Regions from separate parts of the Homo sapiens genome. Here all the other regions are linked to region 3. The links are contacts of gene promoters, found by promoter capture Hi-C in blood cells and fetal thymus (Javierre and others, 2016). All regions are on one chromosome and are shown on one strand. Each heading gives the region's core, a stretch centred on a gene start or on the middle of the fragment in contact. The rest is flanking DNA. Distances are from core to core; before and after follow the strand shown.

Region 1 (3,723 bases), core at 488-2,987, 1.7 Mb after region 3:
CATCTAGAAATGAGTCTTGCAGAATGTTCCCTTCTACCTGGCTCCATTATTTATTCAACCAACCAATCAACTTTGGAGAACCTATCAGGCAGCCTGGAAGCTTTTATATAAGCCACATCAATTTAATTCCTCCCTCATCTTTTCCAGTTTGCCTTGGCCAGCTCGGCCTATGAAGACTCCAGGAAATGGTTCTCAACTGGGGGTGATTCTGCCCCCCAGGGGACATTTGCAATGCCTGGAGACACTTTTGGTTGTCATAGCTGGGGAGAGGGGGCAGGGAATGCTAATGACATCTAGTGGGAAGAGGCTAAAGATGCCGCTAAGCAACTCACAATTTACAGGACAGCCCCTACAACAATGATCTGGCCTCAAGTGCCAATAGTGCTGGGGTTGAGAGACACTGACTCCAGACGGGGTAGGCTCTTTTTGTCTCTGCCTGGTGGACTCTGGCAGCATGGCTGGATGGCAAGCACCTTGAAGGCAGGCACTGCATCTGTCCTGTTCATGCAGGGAACGCAGGTGTTCATGGATACATGTTTACTGAGCGATTGTGACTCTGCAGCCTGGGAGGCAGGTAAGTCCTTCAACCTTTCTGAGCCTCCTTTTTCTCCCTTAAGGCAGGCAAGGCCTACCTCACCTTCACCCTGAAGGTATCATACTGCTGCCCCTTCTCACTCCAGGCACAGTGTCATCTGGTGTCCCTCACCCTGTTTCCCACCACCTAGGCCTGGCCTTGAGAGGTTCTGTGGAAGGAATTTTGGGGAGAGGACACCACTTACTGTTGATGGACTTGAGGTCCCGGTGGATGATGGGCACAGGGGCATCATTGTGTAGGTAGTTCATGCCCCGGGCCACCTGCACAGCCCAGTTGACCAGCACGTGAGGTGGCACCCGGCGACCTGCCAGCACCCTGCTCAGTGCACCACCCCGGGCATACTCCATCACTAGGCAGAGGTGTGGGGGGTTGAGGCAGGCGCCCCTAAGGGCAATTATGTTGGGGTGCTGCAGGGCTCCAAAGAGCCGGGCTTCCTGGCACACCTGCTCCGCTGTCACTGCCGGGTCCTTCTCAGGGTCCAGCCGGGCGGCCTTGACTGCCACCTCCTCGCCACGCCACAGGGCCCGATAGACCTTGCCAAAGCCCCCCACACCGATGATCTCCTCTAGCTGCAGCTCGTGGAAGGGGATCTCCTGGGGCAGCTGGAGGCCCGCGGGTGCAGCGGGGGCGCCGGGGGCCACGTAGTTGCTGGGGAAGACGCCCACGCGGCCGCTGGGGAGCTGCCCGGTCCACCAGCCCTCGTCGCCGGACACCGCACAGTCTTGGGAAAGCACCTGGACGCGATCGCCCCTCCGCAGGGTCAGCTCCTCGTCGCCCGCCGCCTCGTAGTCGAACACCGCGGTCCAGACGGGCCCCGCGGGGGTCGTGCCCCACTCCTTGGCCACCGCCCCCTCCTCCTCCTCCATGGGGGAGGGGCCGGGGGCTGCGGGAGGCCGCTTCACACAGGCTGCCCGCGGGATGCAGAGGGCGGGCCCCGGCGGCCGGGATGGAGGGCAGTCCCTGCGGGGTCTAGGGAGCTCCTGAGGGCCATGGCTGGGGCGCCCTCCGCAGGAGCAAGAAAAAAAACCCTTTCAAAGGGCAGGCTCGTCCCTTCCGATTTGGCTGTACGGGCGGGGCGGGGCGGGGTGGGAGTGGGGCGGCAGGTTCACCCGTGCCCCCCAAACGGCAGAGGGCTAAGAGGGCCTGGCCGCGCGGCTCTCGAATGCCCGCCGGGGTCCGCCGGTGGGGGACGAGGGCGAGGGCGGCAGGCAGTCCCCGTTCCCCGCGCCGCTCACCCCGCGCAGCTCCACCGGCGGCCCCCGGCTCCGCATCCCGGGCCACGACTGCCGGGCCGGGCGGGGGTGGCGGGGCCCCTGGGGCGGCCGCCCCGGGCCGGGGTGGCGCGCCCCTCGGCCTCCTCACGCGCGGGGCAGCCGGGCGGCCCCCATCCTTGGCACCGGCCTCCCGGTCGGCCCCAGCCCCTGCCCCCCGCCCGTGCTGCTTCCCCGGGCCACCGGCGGGGCCCGAGTGACGTGTGGGCGCCGCCGCCGCGGTGCCTCCTGGGAGTTGTAGTCTCCGGCCGTGCGGCCTCGGGGCCCGGCTCTCAGCGCCCTCCAGCAGAGCCCCGCGGCCAGCCTCGGGCCGCAATGGACATGACACCCCACGAAGCCGAAGGAGTCCTCCCGGGGAGATGAGCCCGGCCTCGGCCCCTCCTTCGGACGCGGCGTAGCGGGCGCCCGGGGCGGGGGGAAGCGCTCCTCACAGACCCTGTGGGGGCCGCGGCCCAGGATGGGTTGGACTGCAACGGACGCGATTAGCAACGCGAAAAATAGGAGCTGCGTGCATGACTGTGACTGCCCGGAGCCGCGAACGCAGCCTGGACCTTATCCCTGAGGCAGGACGGCCCCTCGGACCCCCCGACCGAGATGTACGCTGGGAACTGTAGTCCGCGCGGGGACCTGGCGCTGCAGGGGGCGGCCCCCAAACAGCGGGCTGCGGGCGTCGGCGGGTGGTTGGAGCAAGTTAGGGGTCGGGCCGGTGGCGGGACTCTGCGGGGAAGATGGGGCTGGGAGGATGTGTTTAGTGTCCCTGGGGATGTCACAGCCACGTCTGCTTTCCCCACCAGCTCTGGGTTCCTCTGCTGAAGTCAGAACTCCTGCTCTTGAGAATCCCCGATTCCTATTTTATAGGAGTTTCAATTTCGGGGAGCTTAATGTGCATGTTGTATTCAGTGCTTTGTACACGTGGTATCGTTAAGTCTTCACAAAGAGCCCCATTTTACAGATGACTCATAGAGAAGTGAAGTCATTTGTGCAAGGCTACAGAGCTATAAATGGCAAAGCAAAAATGAAAGGCAGTTTTAAAAATTAACAACCAGGCCGGGCGCGGTGGCTCACGCCTGTAATCTCAGCGCTATGGGAGGCCAAGGCGGGCGGATCACGAGGCCAGGAGTTCGTGACCAGCCTGGCCAGCATGGTGAAACCCCCGTCTCTACTATTTAAAAAAAAAAAAAAAAATTAGCCGGGCGTGGTGGTGTGCGCCTGTAATCTATCCCAGCTACTCGGGAGGCTGAGGCAGGAGAATCGCTTGAACCTGGGAGGTGGAGGTTGCAGTGAGCCAAGATCACGCCACAGCACTCCAGCCTGGACGACAGGGCAAGACTCCGTCTCAAAATAAATAAATAAATAAATAACCATCGCCACGATTAACAAAAACAACAACAACAAAAAAAAAAACAACAAAAAACAAACAAACAAAAAACCCACTGCCTTTCTATTTAAAGAATGAGGAAAGTAGGTCCCGCAGAGGTTCAGTGACTTCTTCAAGATCTCTAAGCTTGTAAGAGGCAAAATTCTGGGTCTTTTTACTTGGCCTCTCCTGAGTGGTATGGGGTCTAGAGGGAGGAGAGAAGAAGAGGAAATAAGAGGGACTCTAGTGCCCAAACTCCAGAGAACTGCCCCTCAGGGTCCTTGGGGAATTGTTCCATTGTCAGAGGGAAGTGGGTTACCTGGTCTCCTGGCTACCTAGCAGGGACACTCGGAGCATATCAAAAATGCTTGTTGGAAGAGAGAGCCCCAGCTTCATTCTGAGTATAAGTGTTTCTGCTATAACCTGCTATATGCATTCTTAAAAAACCTTCAGTTCTTCAAAACGGTGCACTAAAATTAACAAGACTTCATGGAAAAAAT
Region 2 (3,669 bases), core at 315-2,814, 1.3 Mb after region 3:
TTTGGAGGGAAGGCTGGAAGTAGGACTGGTGGAGGGCGCGGAAAGGGCACGTCCAAACTTCTGTTAGGAAGAGAAGGGGCCTGAAGAGGGGGTTTTAATCCAGAGGCCGATTGGAAGGGGCGGGGCCTAACAGTTTTGGGGCGGTGTCTTACTGGGGGCATAGCCTAAAATGTGGACCGGGCTTCAGCTGCAGAGGGGGAATGGACTGCGGCTGGAAGGGAGGCTTGGCCGTGATCCTGACACAAGAAAATACATGGACACGGTGGCGGCTTATTTCCACTACAGAGATACGGTGAGAGGGTGTTCTTTCCCTCCGCCTAAGTCTGGGAAGCAGGGCGCCCCTCCTCAGTCCCCAAGGGAGCAGCCTCCAGCACCGCGTTGCAAGCGCTAGCGAAGGCGGGTGGGGGCAGGCTCACCGTCACAGGTGCCCTCGGGGCCCGCGTGGTACCCAGGATCGCAGTCCCGGACACAGCGGTAGGAGCCGGGAGAGTTCTCACAGCGCTGCGACCCGCACAGGGCTGGGCCTCGCTCGCGACATTCGTCCACGTCTGAGGAGAGAGGTCGGGTGGTCGGATGTGGGAAGCAGGGAGGCAAGATGGGGGATACAAAGAGGGGAGAGGAGAGTCAGAAGGGGGAGGCCGGGGAAGCAGAGGAGAGGGCAGGAGAAGATTGGGGTAGAGGAGAGTTGGGGAGGCTAGGAGAGGAGGCGGGGGAAAGAGGTAAGGGGAGGGGAGAAGCGGAGGAGGAAAGACAGAGGTGGGAGGCCAATCGGCGAGTCGGGGAGTCGAAGGGAGGAGGGATCAGGCCGGGGCGGGGCCTCTCACCGAGGCAGGAGGCGAGGTCCGGGCCAGCGCGGTGTCCCGGAGGACAGATGCACTCGAAGGAGCCGTCGGTGTTGGTACAGATGCCGCTCTGGCAAAGGTCCTCCTCGCTGCACTCGTCAACGTCTGCGGGACAGGGCGTCCGAAGGCCCGGCCCACCTCCCGCTCCGCCTAACATTCTAGGCCACACCCCTCCACCGCCCCTCGGCTCTCCTAGGCCTCTCACGCCTTCCCCAACCTGCCTCACGCTACTTCCCTCCCTGCAAACACCGCCCCCCGACGGGTTTAGAACAGCTTCTTTACAATCACGGTCCAAATACCCAGACTCGGCCCTTTCATCTCCACGCCCCGCCCCCCCTCACTGCCTCGAGACTCCCACCAGCTGCCCCCTGATCCTGCTGGAATACCCCGGCTAAAAACTCGTTTTCCCCTTTTCGCCCTCTTCTCCCCGTCCCGCCTTTTCCTGCCCTAAGCCCACCCTTTCCGGGGCCAGGATCAGCCCGGGTACGAACCGAGGCAAGAGGCTCCGCGGGGTCCGGGTCGGTAGCCAGGGGCACAAGTACAGGCAAAGGAGCCGTCAGTGTTGAGGCACTCGCCGTGAGGGAAGCAGAAATCGCCCTCCAGGCACTCGTTCACGTCTAGGGTACGCGGGAGATTGGGCGGAGTCACGGGACCCGGCCTCCCAGACAAGCTCCGCCCACATCGCAGTAACCCCGCCCCCACCAATGCCAGGTTTCTAAGCTCCTCCCACAGCGCCTTGGTCCCGCCTCCACCTTTCCAGCCGGCTTTGCCCTGGAACCCAGGCCCTACTCCCAGACTCTCTGGCGGGTCCCTATGCTGCTCACCTGCGCAGGGCCCGGGCCGACCCGACGGCGCCCGGTAGCCTGGCGCGCAGCTGCAGCGGAAGGAGCCTTCGGTGTTAGTGCAGTGGCCGTGGGGACCACAGGGAGGGGCACCCGAACTGCATTCGTCCACATCTGTGGGGGGTGGGGGTGTTCAGAAAGGGTCCAGTCTCGGGACACACCCGACCAATCCCCTTGGAGTAGGGTGTCTGGGGGAGGTGGTGGGAAGTCTCATGAGTTGGAGGCTGGGGGAGGGCTCTATGGCAGAGGTGGGTAGGGCTGACCAAGGTTCTCGGGTTCCGGGGACCATGGTTGCAAGTCCTGTGGGTCTAGGTTTCTAGGAACTACCTGTGCCAGGATTTTGGAGTCAGGAGAGGGATCAGACAGGGATCAGAAATCAACTAGGGCAAGGGACCAGTCAAGTATTATAAACTAGGATCATTGGATGGGATTCGGCTGAGCCATGGGTCAGAGTTAGTGACTGGAATCTGAATCCAGTTAGGATCAGAAGTTATAGTCAGGGTCCAGAATTCTGCCTCAAGTCAGGGGCCAGGGTCAGGGATTATGAACCCAACCAGGTTCCAGAGAAGGGATTCTGAGAAGAGGCAGGGGCTGTGAAAGAGATAGGACCAAGAGTCACACAGTCAAGGTTATGGTCAGTGCTATGGTTAGTGGTTATGATTAGGGTCAAATGTCACAGTCAAATTCAGGAGTTATAGGTCACATTCAGGGCCAGAGTCATGAGGGTCACAATTGCTATCAGGGTATGGGCAGGGACTATCATCAAGGGTGATGGTTAGGGTCAAATGTTACTGTCAAGTTGGGTCTCAGGAGTCACATTCAGGGTCAAGAGTTGTGGTCCAGGTCAGGGTCAGGAGTCACAGGCTCTGGGGACTGAGGGACTGAGGTCCAGGTCAGGAGGTTACGGCCAGGTCATAGTTGTGATCTGGGTCAAGGGTCGGGGGTCATGATGCAGGCCCAAGGTCACAGCCAGGGCCTGGTCTCACCAGTGCATCTGCCACGGTGCAGGTGGTGGCCAGAAGGACAGGTCCTGCACTGGAAGGAGCCGGGCGAGTTCACACACTCCTGCCCAGGGCATGCGAGGTGGTTCTCACACTCATCCACATCTGGGGGGCAGGGGAGAGGGTGGCCTTGAAGAAGTGGTCCAACTCCCCCCTCACCCATCCACACTCCTCCCTCCCTCCCCGGCCTCACCCTCGCACTCGGAGCCAGCAGTGTTGGGTTGGAAGCCCATGGGGCAGACACACTGGAAGCTGCCTTCTGTGTTCTCACACCGGCCGTAGGTGCAGGGTGGGGGGCTTCGGGCACACTCATCCACATCTGGGGCAGAGGGGACCAATGAGGCTGAGGAAGGGGCCTGAATCCATTCCCATGGCCATCACCACCCACCCCAGCATTCCAGTCTTGAGCCTGCCTTCTGGACTTGCCTCAGGCTGCTCCCTCTTCCCAGGAAGACAGACACCTTCCTCGTGTCCCCATTCAATGGTCTCTCCAGCTACTAAGGTGGGGGCTAAGGCACCAACTCCATGTTGCCTGCCCTGCCTCAGGTGACCCCCTCCTCAGGGTTCCCATAAGCACAAGAGTATCTTTCAAAAAGGGAGGAGGGGTGGGGAGGACTGCCTTATTTTGTTGAAAGGAGAGAAGACTCTGGAGTGAGGTCCCCATCCCTCAGCCCCTGTTCTCCATCCCTGAGCCCCATCACTCTGCCTCTCTGCCCCTCAATAATCTCTCTCCAGTCTCCACAGCAAACAGTGATGGAGTAGGGCTGGGCTCAGCACCCTCACCTTGGCAGGGGGCCCCGGGCCCTCGGGAGCGGAAGCCAGCAGGGCAGGCACAGTGAAAGGAGCCTGCCGTGTTGTCACAGCGGCCGGGCCCACAGGGCGGCGGCTCCTGGGCACACTCATCCACATCCTCTTCACACGCCGAGCCCCGGAAGCCAGCCGGGCAAACACAGCGGAAAGAGCCAGGCAGGTTCTTGCAGGCCC
Region 3 (3,891 bases), core at 113-2,612:
TGTGAACTCTCTGGATTTTGGATGTTTGTTCCAGGCACTGGAGGACCGCTGTCCAGACAGCTCCTTCCAGAAGCAGTGCAGGCGTCCCCTCCTCCCGCAGCCTTCCCGGTCCATTTTTGCACCCCAGCCTCAGCCAGGCCCAGCACCTGGCGCTTTTTCTTGTGTAATCATTCACAGAACCCTAGAAGTAGGTTCTCTCCTTAGCCCCATTTTACAGGAGGGATGGCTGAGGCTCTGGGAGGGCAGGCGGGTTGCCAGCATCACCAGGCAGTCAGGAGTGGCACTGGGTTCAAACTCTTGGCTCCCTGGCCTCTCCCTGCCTGGGCTGAGGAGCCAGTCTGTGGCCTGCCCTGGCCTGTGACCCTGTGCCTGGCCCTCATTCTCTGTAAGTTGTATGTGTCAACCTAGGGGTCAGGGGTGAGTTCAGTCCTTGGGCTGGGCTGCTGGTGATTGAAGGGGCTCAGAGCGGGGTGGAGACTGGGGGTGTCTCTGAGTGAGACGAGGCGGCTCAGGCTGGCTGCAGTGTCCAATCCGGGCTCCTCTGGGAAGCCCCAGCTCTCAGCCAGGCCTCCCACATGGCCAGTCCCCTCTTCTGGAGGTAGGTGGAGGAGGGAGGTGAGGAAGAGAGAAGGAGGAAGAGATGGGGAGAGGGGCCGAGCACCCTCATCGTCACGGGCTTAAGACTCAGACGTGAACTCCAATCCTTGCTCCCAGTGTCCCCTTGGGTGGGGAACCTTTTTCTCTGAACTCCTGGGTTAGCGTGGCCACAGCCCCTGCCAGCTGTCCTTGAGCAGGTGAGGGGGAGTCCATGAGACACCCATTCCCCCAGTGCTGAGAAGGGACTCCCAACAGAGAGAGGCACCTGAGGTTTAAGGCAGAGAAAGCTTTTTCTCCCCTTGACAGACGCTGAATGCTGCTACCCCTAAGTCCCCTTCCTGCCCCCAGCCCTGGTGCTCAGTCAAGAGCAACTTTAGTTCCTTATTTTGGCCTGTGGGGAACAGGAGGTGGGGGAGGTGACTCTTGCTCCTGCCTCCCTGTGTGAGACTGTGGACGCCCCTTCTCCTTCGCTGGGCTCCCTCCAGCCCCACCTTGGCCCATCTTGGCACAGATACGATTTCTATAGGCATCTTCCCTGGGTCCCCTATCCTCTGCCTCCTCTTCCCCTTTCCCTGAGCCCCCTTCCCTCTGCCTGTGCCCTCTCTGCAGCCTCCACAGCTTCCCCCACCTCCCGCCAGTTCCTGCCCTTTGGCCACATACCCAGGTAGACAGCAGACAGCAGGAAGAGGAGGAAGATGGTGGCAGGCAGAGCTTGGAGGACTCCTGGACCCCCAGGCATCTTCTCCCAGTGGGTTGGTTAGTTTGAGTTGCAGCAGTCCCAGGGTACCAGATCCCTACCCCAAACCCCACCCTACTTCCTGCCCAGCCCCCCGGAGATGGGCTCCAGTGGCCCTCGCTACTGGGCCCTTTGCTTGTTGGGCCTGGGGACAGCCCCTGCCGGGTATGCTTCAGGCTGTGAGTGGAGAGAAACTGCTCCCTGCACCTGTGGTGGCCACAATTCCCCTGAGAGGTGGCTGCTTGGGTGGGGGAAGAGGCTGGTTCAAGGGCTGGCTCGTCACTGCTGAGCCTTTGGAAGGAAGCCTAGGGAACCTGAGTCCTGGGCATGTGTCATGGGCAGGTGATGGTTCTGAGCTTGACCTCTCCCCCTGCCTGGACTTGGGCAAACCTTGTCCCTTCCCTGACCCCATTTCCTTGCTTCTTGGGATTAGAAACAAGGACTTAAAGGGGTTGTCACATGCACAGAAATGGCCCACAGTAGGCGCCCAGTAAATGTTAGTCACTATAAATACTCATGAAGAATAAATAAGGCAGGCTGACCTGTGGCTGACTACCCGTGTGACTAGGTGGGCACTTTGATCCTTCGAAGCTTGACATTTTTCATCTGTGAGATGAGGACCAGAATGTCTCCCTGTCTCATTATGTGATACGAGATGGTGTTCCTGGTATTCAAGGAGTGAGAACCATGATCAGCTCTTTACTGGAATTCTTTTTTTAAAAAAACAGGCCAGCTATGGTGGCTTATGCCTGTAATCCCAGCCCTTTGGGAGGCTGAGACAGGAGAATCACCTGAGGTCGAGTTTGAGACCAGCCTGGCCAACATGGCGAAACCCCATCTCTACTAAAAATACAAAATTAGCCAGATGTTGTGGCACATGCCTATTATTCCAGCTACTCAGGAGGCTGAGGCAGGAGAATCAGTTGAACCCAGGAGGTGGAGGTTGCAGTGAGCTGAGATCACACCATTGCACTCCAGCCTGGGTGACAAAAGCGAAACTCTGTCTCTAATAATAACAATAATAACAACAACAACATATATTTTTCTTCTTTTTTTTTTTTAAGAGGGATGGGATCTTGCTATATTGCCCAGGCTGGTCTTGAACTCCTGGCCTCAAGCAATCCTCCTGCCTCAGCTTCCCAAAGTGCTGGGATTACAGGCATGTGCCACTGTGCACAGCCAGAAGTTGTTTTATATTGACCTGCCATGACTGGCAAGGTAGGCCATCCCCCATTTTACAGAGGGGGAAACCGAGGCCAGAGAGGGGAGGTTGTCACTTGCGGGTGTCATACAGTCTAGGGGTGGTGGACAGAGATTCAAAGTCATCTTTGTGTTGCTCCCAGTTTCCTTTGAGCATGTCTGGTAGGAGGGAAATGAGGTCTGAGTGGGGAGGGCGGAGTTGCTGAGATATTTGTGAGCAGTTAGGGGACCCTCACACACATACAAGGGGATATATAAAATAAATTTATTGCAGGGAGATTTTTGGTAGCAAACATTGAGAAGCAAATGAAAAGTCCATTTGTGGGAGAATGGGTGCATACACTGTGGCAAAGTGAGCCAACAGAATGCTACAGAATAGGGGAAGGTGTCATAAGGCTGTCTCAGAAACAGCACAAACATCAGAAAAAATATCGTAGCATGATACAGTTGACTTGTTTTCAAAAGGCGTCCGCTGCTTAGGGACACACGTTTGTAGCAGAGGTGTAGACCCGTGCAGGGGAGTGGCAAACGCCCAGTTCCTGGGAGGGGTTACCTCTGGGGGACGCCAGGGTTGGGTCTGGGGAGGGACACACAGAGACACAGAGAGCTCATCTTGTCTTGGTTTTATTTCCTGTGTTACTTTTTTTTTTTTTTTTTTTGAGACGGAGTCTCGCTTTGTCACCCAGGCTGAAGTGCAGTGGCGTGATCTTGGCTCACTGCAACCTCTGCCTCCCAGGTTCAAGTGATTCTCCTGCCTCAGCCTCCTCAGTAGCTGGGATTACAGGCGGCCACCACCATGCCTGGCTATATTTTTGTATTTTTAGTAGAGACCAGGTTTCACCATGTTGGGCAGGCTGGTCTCACACTCCTGACCTCAGGTAATCCACCCACCTCAGCCTCCCAAAGTGCTGGGATTACAGGCGGGAGCCACCGTGGCTGGCCACTTTTTTTTTTTTCTTTTTTAGAGATAGGGCCTCTCTCTGTCACCAAGGCTGGTGTCCAGTGGCATAATCATAACGTCAAACTCCTGGGCTCAAGTGATTCTCTTGCCTCAGCTTCCCAAGTAGCTGGGATTACAGGTGCACACACCATGCCTGGCTATTTTTAATTTTTTTTTTCTTTTGAGACAGAGTCTCGCTGTGTAGCCCAGGCTGGAGTGCGATGGTGTGATCTTGGCTCACTGCAACCTCCGCCTCCCGGGTTCAAGTGATTCTCCTGCCTCAGCCTCCTGAGTAGCTGGGACTACAAGCAGATGCCACCATGACCGGCTAATTTTTTGTATTTTTTTAGTAGAGATGGGGTTTCACCGTGTTAGCCAGGATGGTCTCAATCTCCTGACCTGATGATCCACTCGCCTC

The links. Contacts are between HindIII fragments. The CHiCAGO score rates a contact against its expected background, and 5 or more counts as called.
Region 1: a contact is called between a fragment that was not itself captured here and the fragment with the promoter of CD79A in region 3, in 1 of 17 cell types (total B cells). The highest score is 5.5, in total B cells.
Region 2: a fragment that was not itself captured here is called in contact with the fragment with the promoter of CD79A in region 3 in 1 of 17 cell types (non-activated CD4 T cells); the score reaches 5.3 in non-activated CD4 T cells.

Annotation. Positions count from the first base shown.
Region 1 is chr19:40,189,770-40,193,492 of GRCh38, reverse strand. It overlaps MAP3K10 (mitogen-activated protein kinase kinase kinase 10), which reads right to left and starts at 2,067. Exons shown (of 10, transcript NM_002446.4): 1 at 780-2,067. The coding sequence starts at 1,461. RefSeq lists silencers at 1,370-1,669, 1,940-2,439 and an enhancer at 2,600-2,839. The HindIII fragment of the contact is 3,270 bases long and covers 103-3,372 here.
Region 2 is chr19:40,611,194-40,614,862 of GRCh38, reverse strand. It overlaps LTBP4 (latent transforming growth factor beta binding protein 4), which reads right to left. Exons shown (of 30, transcript NM_001042545.2): 13 at 3,469-3,669; 14 at 2,879-3,004; 15 at 2,671-2,790; 16 at 1,667-1,798; 17 at 1,334-1,459; 18 at 825-947; 19 at 417-548. Among named protein-coding and RNA genes, the nearest start is that of LTBP4, 12 kb to the right of the region's middle. RefSeq lists enhancers at 1-189, 411-958. The HindIII fragment of the contact is 5,733 bases long and covers 1-3,669 here.
Region 3 is chr19:41,874,750-41,878,640 of GRCh38, reverse strand. It overlaps CD79A (CD79a molecule), which reads right to left and starts at 1,362. Exons shown (of 5, transcript NM_001783.4): 1 at 1,258-1,362. The coding sequence starts at 1,336. RefSeq lists a silencer at 1,161-1,220 and an enhancer at 2,628-2,697. The HindIII fragment of the contact is 1,040 bases long and covers 887-1,926 here.